Linked DNA regions of Homo sapiens: regions 2, 3, 4, 5, 6 and 7 are each linked to region 1. The links are contacts of gene promoters, found by promoter capture Hi-C in blood cells and fetal thymus (Javierre and others, 2016). All regions are on one chromosome and are shown on one strand. The core of a region is centred on a gene start or on the middle of the fragment in contact, and the rest is flanking DNA. Distances in the headings are between cores, read along the strand shown.

What was found. Contacts are between HindIII fragments. The CHiCAGO score rates a contact against its expected background, and 5 or more counts as called.
Region 2: a contact is called between a fragment that was not itself captured here and the fragment with the promoter of AGBL3 in region 1, in 5 of 17 cell types (naive CD4 T cells, naive CD8 T cells, total CD4 T cells and 2 more). The highest score is 7.7, in naive CD4 T cells.
Region 3: a fragment that was not itself captured here is called in contact with the fragment with the promoter of AGBL3 in region 1 in 7 of 17 cell types (naive CD4 T cells, naive B cells, non-activated CD4 T cells and 4 more); the score reaches 8.0 in naive CD4 T cells.
Region 4: a fragment that was not itself captured here is called in contact with the fragment with the promoter of AGBL3 in region 1 in 10 of 17 cell types (naive CD4 T cells, naive CD8 T cells, activated CD4 T cells and 7 more); the score reaches 19.9 in naive CD4 T cells.
Region 5: a fragment that was not itself captured here is called in contact with the fragment with the promoter of AGBL3 in region 1 in 7 of 17 cell types (naive CD4 T cells, total CD8 T cells, naive B cells and 4 more); the score reaches 8.9 in naive CD4 T cells.
Region 6: a fragment that was not itself captured here is called in contact with the fragment with the promoter of AGBL3 in region 1 in 6 of 17 cell types (naive CD8 T cells, non-activated CD4 T cells, naive CD4 T cells and 3 more); the score reaches 9.4 in naive CD8 T cells.
Region 7: the fragment with the promoter of AKR1B15 here is called in contact with the fragment with the promoter of AGBL3 in region 1 in 16 of 17 cell types (total CD4 T cells, M0 macrophages, total CD8 T cells and 13 more); the score reaches 18.2 in total CD4 T cells.

Annotation. Positions count from the first base shown.
Region 1 is chr7:134,985,200-134,987,959 of GRCh38, forward strand. AGBL3 (AGBL carboxypeptidase 3) reads left to right here and starts at 1,309. Exons shown (of 17, transcript NM_178563.4): 1 at 1,309-1,502; 2 at 2,676-2,760. The coding sequence starts at 2,735. RefSeq lists enhancers at 1,211-1,510, 1,521-1,660, 1,741-2,000. The HindIII fragment of the contact is 3,121 bases long and covers 253-2,760 here.
Region 2 is chr7:134,621,625-134,624,701 of GRCh38, forward strand. All of the region lies in intron 1 of LOC124901750 (a long non-coding RNA gene), which reads right to left. Among named protein-coding and RNA genes, the nearest start is that of BPGM, 24 kb to the right of the region's middle. The HindIII fragment of the contact is 644 bases long and covers 1,492-2,135 here.
Region 3 is chr7:134,603,664-134,606,632 of GRCh38, forward strand. No RefSeq gene overlaps it. Among named protein-coding and RNA genes, the nearest start is that of BPGM, 42 kb to the right of the region's middle. The HindIII fragment of the contact is 6,093 bases long and covers 1-2,969 here.
Region 4 is chr7:134,638,872-134,641,571 of GRCh38, forward strand. The region is part of intron 1 of LOC124901750 (a long non-coding RNA gene); the gene reads right to left. Among named protein-coding and RNA genes, the nearest start is that of BPGM, 6.6 kb to the right of the region's middle. RefSeq lists a cis regulatory region at 995-1,415. The HindIII fragment of the contact is 2,133 bases long and covers 349-2,481 here.
Region 5 is chr7:134,659,055-134,661,961 of GRCh38, forward strand. It overlaps BPGM (bisphosphoglycerate mutase), which reads left to right. Exons shown (of 3, transcript NM_001724.5): 2 at 2,393-2,907. The coding sequence starts at 2,454. The region is part of intron 1 of LOC124901750 (a long non-coding RNA gene); the gene reads right to left. Among named protein-coding and RNA genes, the nearest start is that of BPGM, 14 kb to the left of the region's middle. The HindIII fragment of the contact is 2,528 bases long and covers 394-2,907 here.
Region 6 is chr7:134,702,703-134,705,460 of GRCh38, forward strand. All of the region lies in intron 1 of LOC124901750 (a long non-coding RNA gene), which reads right to left. Among named protein-coding and RNA genes, the nearest start is that of BPGM, 57 kb to the left of the region's middle. RefSeq lists silencers at 195-489, 1,060-1,270. The HindIII fragment of the contact is 3,656 bases long and covers 1-2,758 here.
Region 7 is chr7:134,547,615-134,550,552 of GRCh38, forward strand. It overlaps AKR1B15 (aldo-keto reductase family 1 member B15), which reads left to right and starts at 1,496. Exons shown (of 12, transcript NM_001080538.3): 1 at 1,496-1,635. It overlaps LOC105375520 (a long non-coding RNA gene), which reads right to left. Exons shown (of 3, transcript XR_928005.3): 3 at 1-2,938. RefSeq lists an enhancer at 1,507-1,566. The HindIII fragment of the contact is 2,317 bases long and covers 606-2,922 here.

The DNA of each region.
Region 1 (2,760 bases), core at 59-2,558:
TCATTTTTCTTCCCATGGACTACTTGGTATGTGATAATATAACTATTTGGACTAAAAATCACGAGACTTAAGTCTCTCAGCCCTGCCATTAATTTCTTATATAACCTGGTTAGACCATTTCTCAGTTTTACCTTGTACAGCTGACATCCTATGGCTTGCAGCCATGACTAAAATCCAACAGAAAAACAGATTACATAAATAAAGATTTCTCTGTGCATGTCACCTTTAGTGATTTATGTATGGCATAAAACAAGCTTCAACTATAAGAGCTACTTTTCAAGAGGTTGATCTAAGATATACTCTATTAATATTCTCTGGCCAAGGTCTAATCTGGAAGGTTCATACTTTTAAACTGCTGACCTCAAAAACACCTATTTTCAGATACTTACAAAATACAAAGAGATTATGTTAACCCATTTCCATGCTTAAGCCATAGTGCTTTGCCCTTTATTCTACTTTCAAACTTGCTACCATTTATTATCTCCATTTCTACAATATCACGAATCTCATGACATATAACGCTTTGTGAAAAGTGTTTATTTACATTCTTATATCATCAAAATCTAGACTTTTTTTCAGCTGTACTTGGAAAACTTTTCCAAATAGATTACCTTACCCTGTAGAGCTAAAGATGAGGGAAAAAATCAATATGGGATGTTCATGAATAACGTCTGTTAACTAAATGAGACTACATATAGTGATTTGCAGTCATCAGGAAAACAGTGTTAAATATGCTAGCTGACGATTGCTATAAAGAATCTCTGAGCTGATAATTTTGAGAATTCACCCTAGTTCATCTATGACTCTCCATTTAGTATTTAAGGAGAAAAGCCTCATTTTCCAGAATCGAATAAGCGAATTAATCGCACAATTGTGTAGAATGGAACTCAGTCTGTAAAAAATCAAGACCAACGTACTTTTTAATATTCTAACATCTCCAAGTAGTAGTTACAAGTATTGTACCCATGAAGTCCAGGTAATTAATTTGTTCAATGTCACACTGTTAAAAGTCAGGTGGGCTCCAAAGCACAGTCCTAACCAGCATGCTCTACTGCCTCCTCTGAGGCAACAGCCGAAGTGCAGACCACTGGGAATAAATAGCTGCCCGGTCTTCCCCACTCCTAAATTCTCCCGACAGACCCCAAAGCCTCTCTGAGAGCCTCTCTGACCGCCCTGCGGCCCACCCCGAGTTCCCGGCATCCTCTGGGATCCCTCTTCCTGGAGCCAAAACCTACGCAGGCTCCTTTCCTCCGAGCTGGTTGCTAGGTGATCTCCGAAGGCTGTCCGAAGTCTCGCGAGGGCGGACCCGTTGCCTGATGACGAGAGTTGGGAGTGTGGCTGGGGCTGCGGATCTCCAGCAGTGGCGTTACTTCTAGCGGCTGGATACCGGGTTCTCCGCGAGATCGCGAGATCCCGAGATATTCTCCCCGCACGGAAGCGACGACTGGCCTGGCCAGAGGACTCGCGTGGGAGCGAGGTGCCGGCCCCGACAGGACGGTGAGGTATGCAGAAGTAAGGCGGGGCGCCCCCTGCGGGAAGCGAGCGCGCCCCGGAAAATGAGCGCCTCCCCACACCAAGGTGTCCAGGAGTGAGTGCGGGAAGGAACTCGGCCGCCCGGAGTTGTGGCCTCATCGTGCTTCCCGCCAAAAACGCCTTGGTACTGTCGGGACGCGGCTAAGCGTGGACGCGCCCGCATCTGCCCCTCCTCCGCAGTGGTGGAAGACACCCGCGGAGCGCCGGTGGATAAGGGCCGTTTCCTGAGACCAGAGCTGTATCCGCAGCAGGTCAGCACTTCGTGCGCCCTGTGTGCACCTGTAAGGAATGGAATTTAGGCCAGTCGGATTTTCCAAATGTGGAGTTGTGATGCCCAGGCAGAAACTTCAGTTTCTTAGGACTGAAGGTGTCATCTATGAGACAGTCGGTTCCGTGGCATTGGCAGTGATTTGCCATAGAGCTTGGACTTAACTTATATGTAGTCCACGCTCCAAAACACGCTTCCTGTAGAGAGGGGCGTAAACTAATAGATTTGAAATTGTCGAGTCCTTTGGTCTCTCAAGAACGATGGGAACTTGACAAGAAATTTCGATTATTCCCTGGTCTTGATATTACCCACATGGGAAGATACTTGCATAGAATGGTAATGGTCATTACCAATACAACCTTCTGGTAGCTATTTAGATTTCTAAGAATAAGAATAATATAAATGAATATTAGAACAGACAGTATCTACAGAATAATAATCAAAATGTAAAGTCTTGTCACTTGAACTTTTGGTCAAGTGAAAATCAAGGAGAAAACTTAAAATTATATTGCTACATTTCAGTAAGTGACTATAATTTTTAAATTCATTATCTTTTAATGCCTCAGGATCATTCTGAACTTGCTGTGTAGTATTTAATTGTAAATATAAAATGTGAATGATTTGGCTGTATACTCTGGAAATTCCTTTTAATTAAATGATTTGCTTGATTTGTCTTATTGTGGTTGTTGTCTCGTATAGTCATGGAAAATTCCTTTAACTCTTTGAAATTGAAGGTTTTATTAGTTGTATTCTAATTAGTTTTTAGAGAAGACTGTTGTGACTGTTAAATACAATTGAATATATTTTTGAGTACTCATTTAATGTAGTAAACACCTACAGCTTGAAAAGAAAAGCTGTCATATAATTTCCTTAGAAATTGTTTTACAGCCTACCCGTATATTACAAGAAATCTCAAGTCAAACACTGGAAAAGATGTCAGAAGATTCAGAAAAGGAAGA
Region 2 (3,077 bases), core at 564-3,063, 360 kb before region 1:
GTACTTTCAAAAATATTCACTCCTTCCCCCTTTTACCTCCACAAGGGAAATATCCTTCCCCAAATCCTTGACTTTGGGTTTGGCTGCATGGCTTGCCTTGGCAGATGTGACAGAAATAGGGGGTTGAAATGTGCTTGAGTGGTTGGGCCTGGCCTCTTGCACCCCTATCATTGCAACGAGAAGAGTGTGTCTTGACTAGTCATTGCAACGAGAAGAGTGTGTCTTGACTAGTCACTGGTCCAAGGCACATGAAGAAGATGAAGCAGAGCCACCCAGCTGACCTGCAGCTCTGTGAGATTAAATGATTGCTATTTTAAGATACCGAGTTTTGGGGTGGTTTGTGACACAGAATTTTTGTGGCAATAGCTGATACACATCCCAATAGCTCCACAAACGGTCATTATCTTCCCAAGTTCTGTTTCTGTCCCCAGAAAATATCATTCTTGACCGAAAAAATGCAAATATAATATTTTCCTATGGGCTTCTAACTCAAACGGCATAGGGTGTTTCAGAAAAATGTTCCTATTTAATTAGTTCAGTTTGTTTTTATTCCTGACATCATGCTTCCCTCTAAGTACTGTGAGTGCACAGAGGGAAATGTGAGTCTGTGTGCTCAGGTACTTTTTAAATTTCAGGCTTAGGGGAGTCTATGATCCCTAAGTCTGACACTGTCTCATGAACTGTGAAGAACTTGAAGACAGGAGGCTCTATCAGCCTCTCAGCAAGAGAGACAGCACACTCAGCTTTGTTGTGTAGAGGCTTTTTCATAAAGGAAATATTTAGAGGTGTGGTTCGGGTTAGAGGAACTAGCAAGGGATGTTGAGGTGCCCAGACACTAGGAATAGCAGGGAGTTCTGATGATCCCCAGGCCTGAACAGTAGGGGGAGAAAACGCAATTTTTGGAGACTGGCTAAGAGTTAGAGTCAAGATGGGCTGCCCAACGGTAGCTATAGTTTGAGTGATGAGGCCATTGATAGAACCACGGTGAAGCAGATGGTGAGTGGGAATAAATGGTGAGGAGAGATATATTGAAAATAAATATTCCAACATCTTCTCCTCCCACTGACCAGAGGGCAAGGGAACCTCGGTAACACAGTACCTAGAGGTCAGGTTCCCAGGACAAAGAACATAACAGAACACAGAATAAATCTGCAACGAATCAAAGAACAACCACAACAGATGTTTATGAATACTTGCCCCAGTTTTCTCAGGAAAGAAGGCATGGGGAAAGGGAGGGCAAGAAATGAGTTGCGTTTACAAGGAAATTGGTTACAGAGAGTTTACAAAGTCTTCAATTTTGAATTGAGTAGCAAAAAGATGGAAAATTAGATGACCTGTGACTGGGCCAGTAGATGTCTTTGCATTGCATATATCAACCTCAAGCACTTCTCTAAAAGTATCATGAGACAAAACTGTAGCACTAGACGGCATCAGTGAAATTAACCTTAAAGTACCTGGAAGATAAGTATTTTGAGGAGGGCTATCAGATCAAGCTTCTGGTCTTAATCTCTGGGTTTGACATTGGGATTTTAGAAGAAATATTTAAATGGATAGCGAAGTAAAAGGTATATGGATGCCAGGAGATTCCTGAGCTATAGAACTCTGACACTATTTCAATTTTTTGATAATCTTCTGATTCTTCACCTATGAAAATATTATATGAAACTACTTACCAAATTTATCAACCCATGACACATCCACAAACCCAAACTTGCCAGAATACTTTCATTGTCGTGTTAATGTGTTTGAAGGAGAGTGTGGAGGGCGGGGAACACAGGAGACTCCTTGGTCTACATGTCCATACATGCATATCCACATACCAGCATCAGCCATCTCTCTTTCTCCAGCAAAATTACTCTTGCTTTCCATTTCTGTTGTCCAAAATGGGCAAAGGTGAGTGAGTAAAACCAAAACACCAATACACTGAGGATGTCTTTTATTATACACAGAAGTATCCTACTATGCTAGAAAACAATATTATACTAATTTTCTTAGAGAAACAAAGTAGCTGACTATTCATCTGATTCAAATATATGTGAGACACACTTTTTTATCCTTCAGATACAATTTTCACATCGTACTTTCTCTTTAGATTTTATAGTTGGCCCAGTTTCCCCTTGAATGCGAGCCTTATAAGCTTTTTGTACCTCTTAACATCAAACTCAATGAATAACTAAGACTTGGGCTATTTGTATTGCCCAAATGGGAAATGGGGGAGGGTGAAGGAAGAGAATCCTCCCCTCTCCATTCGAAGGTTCCAGGGGGCTACAAAGAGATAATGGTTGATGTTGATTCTAGAAAACTGGTTCTCATGAAGTTTTCAAGCTGATTTCCTTATGTATTAACTTCACTAAAAGAAGGATTCCTTTTGATAAGTGAGGACAAAAAGGCATCATTGAATACCAATTACAAAAAGAAAAAAAATCTACAAGTACAATATTTTGCTTCAAATAAAATATATTTATGTGGTTGCTATGTTTTTGTTGATAGTCAATATATGTAAATATTTAGCTAAATTATGAAAATTCAAGAAAGATCACAGCTATTGGAAGTAGCAGGCTAGCTAAAAGCCTCTGCAGCATTGCTTGAACAGAAACAGACCAAAGGCAGATTATGTCTGAAGATGTGTTGATTATATCTCCTTAAAGAAATAATAAGTTCTTTAAAAGGGCAATATAAGCAACATTCATGTACTTATGAGAAATGTGTAACTAAATACTTCATTGCTTAACTAAACATTTATTGGATGCCTATCGGTGATTAGAATGAATGATTGGGGGTTCCAGTTAATTAACTACCTGAATTTGTCTTCCTATATATAATTTTCCAGGAAGAAAATAATATAACAAAAAGGAAATGGTTACAAAGTAACAAACATTTTATTTCCCAGTCTAATCTTTTTCAACCTATATTTATACCCAGAGGACTGCGTGGTATGTTCAGCATCATGTATCTTGGCTTCTGTCAAGATGAATATTTTGTATTGATCAACGCTTTACACTTTACAAAGCCCTTTCAAATACTTATTTCCTTTGACTTCTAAGTCTTACTGCACCATTGTGTAGATGGAAAAATTG
Region 3 (2,969 bases), core at 219-2,718, 380 kb before region 1:
AATTCTGTAGCGGGGTCTCCAGACTTGGTCTGCCTAAAAATTAGCCCCATAATAATTATGTGCCTTTAGACACTAGCATGCAGTTAGATAAATGTGAAGGGACTATATTCGGTGAGAAAGAGGGACGTGGAGTCCATTTTAAGGCTAAGGAAAAAGGCTTCTGCAGTTTGCTTCAAGGTTATATGTTGAAATCCAAGAGAAAGGAAAAAAAACGTTTAAAATGCATTTTGAAGTTAAGTTGCCTAGTTACAGAATCATAGACTCGAGGCTGGTGGGGCCCAGAGGCACTGGAGGTCTTCTAGATCTTCAATATTACACACAGTCTGGCTAATGTTTAAACACCTCTAGGGATCAGGAATTCACTTCCCAACGAATATTTAGGAGAAAATCTTGTGTTTAGCAAGTCTTTCTTAACGTGCAGCTAAAATGCCATCTTCCTTTATCCTCCATTTGTAGATCTCAATTCTGCATGCAGTGACGGCACGGAACGGGTCTTTTCCTATTCCTAATGAAAGCCCTCCAAATATTTGATATAGGTCTTATATTCCTATGTTACACCCAATTGTTTTTGATGAATACCCCCAATTAATGGATACAGTTCAAATTCCACAAATTAAATTCATTTTTAAATTCAATTTATTAAAAATTGATTTATTAGTTTACTAATATTGATACATCAATTAAATTACATAACCTCAATTAATACAGTTCCAAATGGATGTGTGTTTAATACCCTTGGCTTTAAGAGAGAGAGAGAAGGCCGGGCACGGTGGCTCACGCCTGTAATCCAAGCACTTTGGGTGGCTGGGGCGGGTGGATCACGAGGTCAGGAGTTCAAGACCAGCCTCGCCAAGATGGTGAAACTCCGTGTCTACTAAAAATACAAAAATTAGCTGGGCGCAGTGGCAGGCACCTGTAATCCCAGCTACTCAGGAGGCTGAGGCAGGAGAATTGCTTGAACCAGGCGGCAGAGGTTGCAGTGAGCTGAGATCGCACCACTGCACTCCAGCCTGGGCGACAGAGCTAGACTCCGTCTTAAAAAAAAAAAATAACAAGAGAAAGACAGGAGGCTCCAGCTGAATCTTTTAGGCTGTCAGTACCTTAGTAGGGTCATTTTGAGACCAAGGTCCAGTCTACAGTTTTTGACATTTAAAAAATTATTTCTAAAAATGTATTTTTGTTAGTCCACTCAGGAATAATATCGGGGATGATCCATAATAATCTAGTCATTAAAAAACTGATAAATATAGTAGAATCTTACATAACTATTCAGAGAGATATATCCATCAAGCCGACTGAAACATATGTGCACCTGCCTGCTGGTCATATATGATCTTTTCAGTAGCCAGAAAACCTTTGAAAATGATTTGCATATCAGAAGAGTGATTATAATAAATAACTTAAGCCTGAGGCACTTACCATCTTGATTGATCCTAAGGACAGAGCACACTGCCATATGCCTGCAGCCCAGTGGGTAGATCCTCTTTTGATAGTTGTGGAGGGAGATTCTCATAAATTCTGGATGAATGATTCTTCCCTTTCAATATTCATTATCAGACATACAAGTCTTCCATCATCTCTGTATTTGGCAGTATGTGTAGTGGCTATGAGGCTTGTCTCTAGAGTAAGTATTTATCAAATGAAGGACTGAATACACAAACCACATGCCACCGGGATAGGATAAAGTCAGTTGAAGTTTAATGATGGGAGCATATTTTGCTGGAGTATAGTTTGAAAGCATTGCCTTTCCAGATAAAATTTGTAAAAGACGTCACCTCAGGCTCCTTCCTATGGTTTAGAAAACACTCCAGTTAGTAATGTTTGTAACATCTTTTGGGGGAGTAAGTTGATTCAGAGATGAGATACAGGATATCCATTTTTATTACTTTCTATTGAAGAGGGTGGAATTTCTATCTTCTCCATCCGACTGGGTACACCTACCCGGAAAGACTCTGTAGCTCCTATGCTCTTTCTACAGTAGAGAAGGGCTTCAGAGAGGACAGGATGGATGACCTCAGCCCCCCAGATAAAGGAGGATGTGAGCTCAACTGCTGCAGTTGGGGAAGCTGAAATGTGGTAAGGGATTTCAGGGAGTGGGGAAGGCTTAGAATACTTCCATGAGGAATCCCCTAAGAAGTTCATGAAGAATGAAAGTTGAACATTGAAGTCACCACTGAGGTTACATATCACATATTTAGAATTAAGTCACTGTGCAGACTTTTGTAATTTTCTGCCAAGCACCTGGCTGCCCAGAGAAAGAGAGATAAGAAGGTTGATTTTTTTTTTGTCTTTTTTCTTGTTTCCTTTTTGTGGAGAACAGGGTCTCGCTATATTGCCCAGGCAGGTCTCGAACTCCTGGGCTTAAGCTATCCTCCCGCCTCTTGTCTCCCTGAGAGCTGGGATTACAGGCGTGAGCCACCATGCCTGGCCAAGAAGTTTGATTTTATCTAGTGCTGGGAATTGCCTAAGTACAAAGGATTCCAGGAGGCCTAGTGACATTAACTGATCTTTAAATAGAAAATCGTTAAGGGTTGTTTAGCAGGAAATGTTTCAAAGCAGGGGAAAGGCTACCCATGTAGACAGATAGGAGATGATTATAGACAATTAACCTGAGAGTAACCTGTCATCTCCCCAATGGCTGAGGTCTCACCATTTCTCTGGTTTACACTTGCATGGGGCTTAAGATCTTCTTGGCCCCAGCTGACTGACCTCCCTGTATTATTTGCTATTGTTTGTTTAATTCCACTATTGTCTTACCCCTTCAAACTTCAGGCTTTCATTATAAATATTAATAATCTGACTTGGTGCCCAAGCTGGGGGACAGTCTAGTTGGGGCTCTGCTGCCACCTAGTGGTCTTTAGTCGCTTCGCATGTCTATGGTGTCTAGGCTACGAAGGGGGCAAGTGAAACCAAGAGACGGCTTGAATAGAAGCATTCAAGGGGTCTGGAGTTCACGACGAGGGTAAACA
Region 4 (2,700 bases), core at 165-2,664, 350 kb before region 1:
AAATAGATGAGTTTAGGAGAAGAGAATATGCTATAGTTACCTTTTTTCAGAAGAAAAGAAATGAAAGCATTTTCCATAATATTTTGTTAGAGGTTGGTCTATTCTTGTTTTACTGAATATAGCTGGGTTTGGAGCTGAGAACACAGGTCCTTTCCTGCTGTGCATAAAAACAATTATCTACAGAAGGGAAACTCTAGCAATATATCAATGCCAGGCCTTTATACACTTGTTGGTATTCTGATGGTGAAGACATGTATGTCATTTGGCACTGCAGTTCCTTCTTTGTTTCGGCTGTGATAGTGATCCAGGATCCTAGCAATCTAAACATCATCTTACTTCGAATTACCAAGCTTTGAAGCCTTTGCCATTACTCACTTTATAAGTCGTAACTTAGTAAAGAGAACATCATATGAGAGTGATTTTTCTTCCCTATCTGATTTTTACATCTTCTGGTTGCAAACAGCAATTTACCTATTCCTCTTATCTGATACCTCACAGAGTGACAACATCAGAAACTAGTTAGGACACTCACCTGGCAGAGACTGGAATTTAGTGGTTGGTACTGACTGATGATATAAACAATTAATTATTTACTCTCTTCATTCCTTATTTCAAAAGTTACTAATAAATGAAGCCAGTCAAGCTATTTCTTACATTTTATTATTTTTAAATTTTATATTTTTATTTTAATTTTATATTTTTAAATTTTATTATAAAAATAAATTTTATTAAATTTATTTTATAAGGATTTTATTTTATAAGGATTCTGTGAGTACTTAAATGAGAAACATAAAGAACTTTGTCTCACTCATGTTGGAATCATAGCTCTTTAGGAAAAAAGTAGCATCTCTCTAGACATAAAATAACAACTATAAGTTGCTATAGAAACAACAGCTCTCAAAGCCAGTAGAGAACATTTTTAAAAAGGGTGCCCCTTAGAATCTCAGGTAGCCTCCAAAATGCTTACACCCAAAGAAAAAGTATTTTACATAGACGGGCTTAGTTTAGAGGTTTAAGATGATTTCATCTTTAAATAGATAGCCTTTACTCTCCGTTGTGATTTTTATACTGTTTTAGATTTCTTAAAAAGTTTTCCCCTCTCTATTTTTCAGACCCATTAGGCTTCATGTCATCTCAGCTGACTAGCATCTGTGGCCTGGCACTTGTTTTGACTAAGTAATCATATGCCTTTCTCTACCTAGTGCAGCCCCTGGAACCTTATCTGCTAGGACCAGCCTTTCACTGCCCTAGGAAGGCCTCCCAGTTGCGTGTTACATCTGTTTTTCTCTGGAAGAAAACAAGAGAAAACAATTAAGAAGGTTGATTTTACCCTATACATAAGAAACTTCAATTCTCATTCTGTGCTTTAACTGCTTTTGTATTTAAGCAATTCTTTCGTCTACTTTGAGCCTCTATTTTCTCAACTATAAAATAAGGGAGTTGAGCTACATGATTTCTGTTTCTTTCAGAGCTAACATTTTCAGTCCACACATAAAATTTAACATTATTCTTATAAGTTTATATATATCACATTTTATTGTAAACTCCTAGGGTCTAAAGGCATAAATGTTTTTAAAAAGACATGTACTTATTTATTTGTGTGAATCTATACACAAAAAGTACTATTTAGCAAAAAAAAAAAAGACAGGAAATTTAATCTATTTCTTTTTTGATGCATTCATTTATTAACATATATTAATTGAGCACCTAATGCCAGACATTGTGGACAAGTGGTAAACCAAAGCAACAGGGCCCATATGTTTAGGGAGCTTGAAGACCAATGGAGAAACAGATCATATACAGTGTAAGTAGATTTGTGTAAAGTTCTATAAAGAAGAAGTGCACGGTGCCTAGGAGATATAAGCCAGGTAGGATCAAGTTTTTCCAGGAGGATGACCACTCAATAAATATCAAAGTTGAATAGGAATCATTAGACTAAGGGGCAGGGAGTGGGGAAGGGAGGAAGAAGAGAAGGAGGGGAAGGATGTAGCATTCTAGGTAGGGAATACACATGTGTGAAGGCCAAATGATCATAGGGAGAAGGAAGGGTCACTATAAGGAGCAATGGGAAGCCACTGTTCTAAGCTGGGGAGTGGTAGGGGGTGACTTGTGACACAATCACTAAGGTATTCTACCATATCACCCACCCCTGGCTGCCTAGAAGAGAGTAAAAGTGGATTCAGAAAGACTTGTTAGGAGGCTACTGAGAAAATGCCGGCAAGAGGTGATGGTAGCTTGGGCTAAGGTGTTGGTAGTGTGTTAGGGGTGTGGTGTGTCTGTGAATAGGATGAGGAGGATGGAAAAAAATATTTGAAACATAAACCTTGATTGATACTGATTTGGATTAGATTGTGTAAAGAGGCTTTAATGAGACATTCTAGAAATTACACTTCCACGTAAGTGTCACTGCCTTCTAAGTGTTATATTATGAGGTTACACACCCATTTCAAAGATGCTTCATGGGTGTCAACAATTCTGAGAAGCTTCTTTCAGAACTTACGTCAGAACCAGTGTATAAACCATAGCAGAAAAATAGGCTTATTGCTATATAGAAAATATTTCATAAATCCCCAAAGCTAAGGAAACAAATATGTGTGTAATGTTCTTAAGTTGATGCAGGGTTCATAAAGACTTCCTTTTATGAGTTTGACCTTCCAACTTGTAGAGTGAGGTCACTTCTTTAAGAAAATATGCATGTAT
Region 5 (2,907 bases), core at 408-2,907, 330 kb before region 1:
AAAGGTGCTTCTGTCTACAAAATTTGTCTAACCATGCCCTTCTTTAACTGAAGAGAGAATGGCTTCATTAGCTTATGGAGGTTTCTCACTTGACAAGATAAACTGAGGGTGAAGGTAGAGGAACAGTTGATAGCTTCTTTTTTCTCCATCCCCCTCCTCCACTACCAATAACAAAACAAAATGATCAATGGTTACAAAGGGTAGATACAGTTTTTGATGGAGCTGAGGCTTCTACTACTTGGTGGATTGGGGCTTTGTAAAGAAACACTGCAAAAATATCTTCCATTTGCAAATTAACACACTTACACACACCCCTCCGTGTGTGTGTGTGTGTGTGTGTGTGTGTGTGTGTGTGTGTTCATCACCTGGTTTCTCACAGGTGAGGGGCTCTGAAGCTTGAACTTTGTTAGATTCATGACTATTCTGCCCCTGGGCACAGGCAGTCATCTGGCAAAACACTGCCTAGATACCTTTTGTTCCCTTCTCTGTTCTGCCACCCTGATGCCTCTTCTAGGCTAAGGACAGAGACATTGGGCTTCCTCCTTGGGAATTCTCAGCTCTGTGGGATGCTTTAATCTGGGTCCTGAGCCCAGGCTCTTCTGGTTCCCTGGCACTTCCCTGCTGCACATGCACAGCAACCTGGTACTTAACAAGAAAGGAAAATCATCATCCTAACTGCTGTAGCCTTTCAACTTCAGTCATGCACCACCTAATGATGTTTCAGTCAAGCATGGATCGTGTAAATGATGGTGGCCCTGTAAGATGGTAATGGAGCATATATAGACATCTGATATGTGGCACTTGACATTGGCATTGCAGATCGAGTAGGGGAAATGACTGATATTCAGTAATTGTGCTGGGATACTTGGCTTTCCATATGAAAAAACATAAGTAACAATATGTATACCATCTAGGTTTGTGTAAGTACATTCTATGTTGTTTGCACGACAAAATCACCTAATGATGCATTTGCCAGGACATATTCCCTTCATTAAGCAACACATGACGATACTTGCAAATCACCTCAATTTGATTTCTTTCCTTAAGTCCTCTGTTTGCCTTCCATTGAAATATAAAGCCTTATTTTAAAGACTGTTTTCCCTTCAGAATCTCTAGGAATTACTAAAGAAAGGTAGAAACTAGATCTAGATTCCAATCAATTTTGCCATTGATTGTTATTTTACTGTGGGTGACTCACAGTTTAAGTGGGAGAGAAAATCTCCAGTTAATGGAAGTTGCCAAGAGTGGCAGAAGACCAGGCTGTAGTGCTCGTATAATCTTTACAACCCAGTGTGCAAAACACTGGAGGAGAGATGGAGAGGCCGGGCGTGTAAACCAAGCATGTGTCAGTGCAGATGTGTCCACCACAAGGAGAGAGAGAGGCGGGCTGAGCAGCCATGTCAGCAGATTCTCCGAGGATGGAGTGGGCCCAGCAGATCTTCAGGCCAGCAGCTTAAATGTAAGGAGTTCAGCATAGCTTGAGAGTTGCTGGTCTCCCTTTACTAGATTCTCCCCCTGCTAAGACGTAGCTGGTGTGTGTAGGATATCTGGAGGGCTGGGGAGGAGGAGGTGGGGCCTCTTTATCAGTGTGGTTCCTCTCACTCCTGCCTACCAGATCTGTTTGTACAGGCAGCATCCCTCAGCTGCTTGCATTTGATAGCTTATTTTGCATCTGGATTTATTCCTGCTGAAAACTCTATCTTGAGGTAGGTGCAAGATTATTTAGGTACGTACCATATTTGGTGTTAATGTCTCTTTAAAGCACTTTTAATTTGTCTGAATGTTGAACTGATGTGTTTTGCATACCTTAGATTTTCTTGTGTGTTGTAGCCTGTGGCATTGAAGAGCTAGTTGCCACCAGCCAGTGATACATATCAGATATATGCAGTGGTGCATTGAAATAACATGTTTAATAACTTCTATAATAAGAATGTGAGACTGGTAAATACTTCTTTTTCCACCACAGGAAAACAAAGTGAAAAGGATGCCTTCAGTGTAGAGTCAGCTGCTGGGAGCTGGGAGTTCCCAGCCACTAGTCATTCTTTCAGACGTCTGTAACTCATTCTATTAAATCCTTTCTACTGTAAGCATAAATTGCCTTTGTATCTGGCAGAAACACAGCATGCCATTAGAATGAAGTGTTTTGTTATTTTATGTCATGCAATTAACATGCTATCCAAACATCAGAAAATTTAAGTCAACTAGATTCCCTGTAATGAATTATTAATATCTATAGAATATGCCTGTATGTGTCACAGTGTATGAGTTATCACATTTCTGACTGTTCAAAGGGATTTCAGTTTCTTTTAGAAATTGGGTGTTGTAAAGCGATGTTTCTATTCCTAGATTGTCAGTTGAATATAACTTAGACTTGTTGTTCTTGTCTTTCTAGATGTATTGCTGTCCTTGAATATTAGCCCATTTGAAAACGCCTGGGAAGTTCAGCCATCAGTATGTCCAAGTACAAACTTATTATGTTAAGACATGGAGAGGGTGCTTGGAATAAGGAGAACCGTTTTTGTAGCTGGGTGGATCAGAAACTCAACAGCGAAGGAATGGAGGAAGCTCGGAACTGTGGGAAGCAACTCAAAGCGTTAAACTTTGAGTTTGATCTTGTATTCACATCTGTCCTTAATCGGTCCATTCACACAGCCTGGCTGATCCTGGAAGAGCTAGGCCAGGAATGGGTGCCTGTGGAAAGCTCCTGGCGTCTAAATGAGCGTCACTATGGGGCCTTGATCGGTCTCAACAGGGAGCAGATGGCTTTGAATCATGGTGAAGAACAAGTGAGGCTCTGGAGAAGAAGCTACAATGTAACCCCGCCTCCCATTGAGGAGTCTCATCCTTACTACCAAGAAATCTACAACGACCGGAGGTATAAAGTATGCGATGTGCCCTTGGATCAAC
Region 6 (2,758 bases), core at 8-2,507, 280 kb before region 1:
TTGCCTCTTTTTCTGCCCACATGCTGACAATTTTGTTGAACAAAATTACAAGAATAGCACAAGGATAACCTTTCCCCTGCCCTCTGCATGGGTCTTCCCGACATTGTTATGCTCGCCTGTCTTGTGCTATTAGATCAGCTTTCTTATTGCATCTATGCATTGTGGAACATTCTGGCTACAAGCCTGCGTGCTGGAGCCAGACTGCCTGGGTTCAAATCCCACCACTACCTCTGCTGGCTGTGACGTTTGGCAAGTTCCTTAACCTCTGTCTTCAGTTTTCTTGCCTGAACAGTAAGGAAGGGGATCAGATCCTCTCAAAGGTGCTGCTCAGCCCTGACATGATTGTGCTTTTATTTATTTAAAAAACATAAAAATGATGACTGTGCCTATTACAGGAAGGAATGGAACAGAAGGAGCAGGCAGTGGTGAGAGAAAGATGGATCAAAGAGCCTTTCCCTTCAGCTATAAACCAGCTTCTCTTGTTTCTCTTTGCCTTGCTTTTAAGGTATCTCTGACTACAGAGGAAGAAGAACACGGGAACTTTGAGTTGTTATTATTGAGGAAGACAGGATGATCAGGAATTTGACCAGGAAGCCCAGGTCACATCTAACATCAGTGAGGCAGTGACTGGTTAAAGGCTTGATGAGAACTGGCTGTCTGGCCCCAGGCTGCCAGGAATAGCGGGGGTCAATGACCTATAAAACCTTAGGCTGTATCAGCTTGGGTGGACTAAGTGATTACCATGTCTCCCTAGAAGCTAGTCTGGAAGCCATCCGCAGGGGAATTTGAACTAATGAACCAGGGCCACTGGGGATGGGACCCAGGAATCTGGATTTTAACCAGCATCTCAGCTGACTCTTAGGCTTCAGGTTTAGAACCACTGATGTGGTCCATTCTTCTCACCGACAAAACAAGGACCAGCTCTTTCTTTTTTCTCTGCTTCTTTTCAGACAGAAGGTGTTCGGGGTAGAGAAGCAGAGTTTGATCTCAGTGCTGCTTCTTCTTCTAAGCCACCGTGTTCAGAGAGCTAAGCATAAGGCAGAATGGAGGTGAGAAATCGCTCAGAAATTCTCAAAGCCCAGGCAAAGGGAGATTTGATTTCCTTTTGCATGCTTCCCCGAAGTATGTTAATTCTGGCGTAAACATGGTCTGAGGCATTACTAGGGTGAGGAGAAAGGCGTGCTGAGAAAGGAGGCCCTTACTCTCATAGGCCTTTCGTTGCAGGTCACAGGATGTCACTGATGGGTTGTTCTGAAAGCATTTGCCCCCTGCCACCCCCACCAAGCAGAGTCCTACCCGCTTACGAAAGCAGTTTCTTTGAGGTCAAAGGCTGAGAACAAACTGCAAATAAAAGCATCAGTCTCCTTTGCAGCTGACTCACTTAGGTCACCCCAGGGAGCAGCCAAACCACTGTATAAGGGAGGGACAGCTCAATTTGAGGCATGTATAAATTAGGAAATGTGTAGTACTAATGGATAATTAATAGGTTGTTTTATTTGCAGAGCCGATAGACAAATTTGGCATTCCGTGTGTTCAGACCTTTAAATATTTATAACCAAGAGCCTACAGGAGTACTGTTTCTGTAGAGACTTTTCTGATAGAGTATTGTGAATTTCAAAGTGCCCTTGGCTAAGCCTTTCTGCGATTTCATTCCACTTTTTTTTTTTTCTGCATATAATGGCTAAAGAAATTTTCCTGGGTCACCTTAGTAAACACTGTGTGGTAGTACTTTGAATGTTGTAGGGACCTGGGATACACCCACTACGCAGGGCTAACTACCAAGCAAAGAAGTCCCTTTGCTCATTAGAACAGATGGAAGGGCCAAACCTATCACAATTTAACTTTGAGAAACCACAGGACCTCATTGCCAATAGACTTTTTCTGAGGTGGGCCCTGGAGACCCCTCTGAAAAGTATTTCAGGAAATGTGAGAAGTTCGTGTCCTCTTAGAAAAACTTCAGCTACTCCTAGGGAGTCATAAGCAAACCCCAAATTCCAGAAAGGGGCTTCTTGGGGATTTTGAGACTTTGGGGAGTTTGAGAACTTGACCTTCCCAGAGTACCCTAGAGAGGGGTGAACTGATCAAGAACCATACACTCCATGGTACCACCTGCAAACCCTCTTCCTCACACCCAAAGGGAGTTCTTGGCCCTCACTGGGACTCCTTGCACCCCGGGGAAATGGGTCCAGGAGAGTTGAGCAACTCATCCAAAGTCCCACTACAGTGAGTGTCAGGGCTAGGGTTCAAGCTCACATCTGCCAAACCTCAAAGCCACACTGCAATATAATTATGAAAATAATACGATACTTTTGGTTACTGAGGCATGCTTCGCTGAACCTCAGATTCCTTACCTATCAAGCAGGGCTAATAACACCCACACGCAGAGTTAAGGTCAGTGTCAAATGAGATGATATGCTTATGTCGAGCACCCAACATTGTTTCTGGAACATAGAAGATGCATAACATAGGATTGCTATAATTTTTACTGTTGTTGGAGAGTGGAAACAAATCAGTGGGTTAAGGGAAGAGTGCACATTATTGTCTATAACCCAATAAAGAGAAAAATCAGTGATCTTTGGGAATTGAAAAGAAGTGTTACAAATTGTCACCCTATCCCACTCTGACTTAACAAATCTTTAGATCAGCCAATGAACAACAAGAATGATTGTTAGGGATGGTTGTAAGAGATTGGGTGGTGATATACTCAAGCCTGTTTTGAAGAGTGAAGCAACTCGCAGAGTTGCAAGTACAAATAATA
Region 7 (2,938 bases), core at 246-2,745, 440 kb before region 1:
ACAACCCATACCTACCAAGACATGGGATCCTCTAAATCACCTTCCTTCCTTCAGCGCCCCCAATCCTGCCCCTTTGGTTCCCCTCTCAGGTCCCTCCGGCTGTGGTTTCAGGTTACTCCCCAGCTGTTTCAGGCCACGCCCCAGCCTGTGCTGTCCCTTCAGCTGAGGTTTCAAGTTACTCCCCAGCCGCTTCAGGCCACAACCCACCAAGTTAAAACTATATTAAATCAAAACGCAAGGAGGGAGATTACCAACTCAAAAATTTTAAAATATGAGGCTATCTTTCTGGGAAAAAGGTGATTTAATATTAAGTACTAATAATTCACTTTATTCAGCAGGCTCTTTAACGGGGGATCCAAACGTAAAACGAGAGAGCACGCGTGTTTAAATCGAATTAATTACCATACGAAAGTTCAACCAGACTTAGGAAAAACTCCCTTCAAGACAGGGTGGCACTTATTCATAGATGGAACCTCCCAGGTGATTAAAAGAAAGAGACATAATAGGTATTCAGTGATTAATGGAAAGACTGTTAAAAAAGTAAAATCAGGAAGGGGGTCTAATAATTGGTCTGTCCAAGGGTGTGAACTGTTTGCACTCAGCCAAGCTTTAGGACATTTACAAAACCAAGAAAATCTATCTATACTGACTCTAAGTATCCCTCTGGGGAGGCACACACATTTGGGAAAATTTGGATGGAGAGGGCTCTTATCAATAGTAGAGGCCAAGATTTAGTTCATAGAGAACTGATGCTCGTGTCCTCAACAATCTCCAATTGCCAGAAGAGATAGCTATTGTACATGTCCCAGGGCACCAAAACGACTCGCCTTTCACAAGTCCAGGAAATAATCTTGCAGATCAAATTGTGATACCCTATCTTGTTTTATCCTGATTGACTCTTTCTTAGCTGAGAGAGTCAATAGCTTGGGAGACTCAATTGAGAGTCAATATCGAGAGAGTCAATAGCTGAGAGAGTCTTAGCTTGGTTTCTTCGCTTGCAGCCCCTTGTCCCCCTCCTTAAGGACATAACTGGTGCAAGCTGACTCCAAGCACATCCAAGAATGCGCTTATTGATAAGATACTGAGGCAAGCTGTACCAGCAGCTCCTGGGAGCACACTTGGTTGGTGGTATCCAAAGCCCCTGCTTTTATCACTTTGGGATACTTTAAGCCCCTGCACCTGGAACTGTTTATTTTCCTGTAACTGTTTCTGTAACCATTTATCTTTTAATTTTTTCCTGTTCTGCTTCTGTAAAAAATTGCTTCAGCTAGACTCCCCCTCCCCTCTTTAGGCCAAGGTATAAAAAGAACTCTAGCCTCTTCTTCCGGACCGAGAGAATTTCAAGCTCTAGCTCTTTCTCAGTCGCCAGCAATAAAGGACTCCTGAATTAGTCTCAGAGTGTGGCATTCTCTCTATGACTTGCTCGGTTACGACATTTGGAAGCCCCAGAGAGATTCGCCACCGGGTGAAGACCTGACTCATTCCGGGCTTCCCCAGACAGACAGCTGGCTTACAGGGCCACCTGAAGACGTTCCAGGGCTCCACAGGCCACTGTCTTCTGGAGGGGAACGGATCGACTGCCGGTGCGCCCAGCCAAATTCAACTCCTGAGTCCTCAGTCTCTAGTCCCGGGAAGGTAAGTCAGATCTGACTCTGTCTCTCTGGGAGGGAAACGGCCCTGACGAAGGTCCTCCCTCAGACTCTGTCCATGCTCCAGGACACTGGAGGACAGAGTCCTGGTTTCTGTCAGGATTCTCTGTTAAGTCTAGTCTCTCTCTCTCTCTATCTCTTCTCCCTCTCTCATTCAGGTCTCCGGGAGATCTCTGTTTTAGAATGGGTATAAAAATTGTAATAAACTCTGAGTGAGTGAGTGAGTGAGTGAATGTGGAGTTCAAGGGCTTGCGCTTGAATTTCCAGTTTGTAGCTCCAGGGTGAAAGCTAGGGAATTCGAGAAGGCCCTCACCTGTGGTTCCGTGGTGACCTCATAAGGCTTAGGGCGGCATCAGGCATAGCTCGATCCAAGCCAGGGGTTTATACCAGCCTGCCAATGCCAAGAGGAGCCTAAGTCCCCGAAAGGGGAGCAGCCAGGAGGGCATCTGACTGATCCCATCACGGGACCCCCTCCCCTTGTCTGTCTATAAAAATTGCCATGCTTGTTTATATACCCCAGTGCCTATTGTCCTGTTTAGTGTCTGTCTAAATTTCATATGTCGGATCGTCGATACTGCCCAAAATGACTGGGCAAGGACTTCTTCAAGGTCCTTAGTACAGATTTTCTATCCCAGGAGGTCAAATTCCTCATTAGTCGGTTGGGCTGGCCATCCCAGTCCTGCCTTTCCTGTCAGAAACAAATTAGGTGTTGTTATGGGGAAGGGTGTGGAAGACATTCACCCGTTTAGGATTTCTGGCACCATAAAGATTGCTGGCGTTTGGATTGCCATACCCCACGCCCCAACGACTGGTCCACCTTCTCCTTAGACCAGTGGTGGATCCAAAATAGCCACCCTGCTGACCTCCTTACTCACCTTTTCTGTCATCCCATAACTTTTCCCATGCCCTTAAATAAGGCACTGTGCAGAGAAACCTACACCCATACTGCTCTACTCTGTCTGGACTCTTATTTTACCTCTTTTGGCTACTCTCCAACCTTTAGGGAAATCCAAGTGGCCCCTTTCCTCCTCATCCCCATCCCTTACCCTGCACATCTCATTTTCCTGTGTTGCAGCAAGTCCAGCGTCTCTAAGACTTGGCTGTGTTCTCCCTCCTTAAACCCGTGAAGGAAAGGACCGAGTTTGAACATTTTGCTTTCGAGTCGTGGAGACACCAAAGTTATTTGGGATATAAGTCAAGAAGGGGGGGTCACCTAAGTCCCACTGGCTGAGGATCCCTTGGACCCACCTCTTATCCTCTCCATAGATCTCGAAGCTTGAGGAGACAGA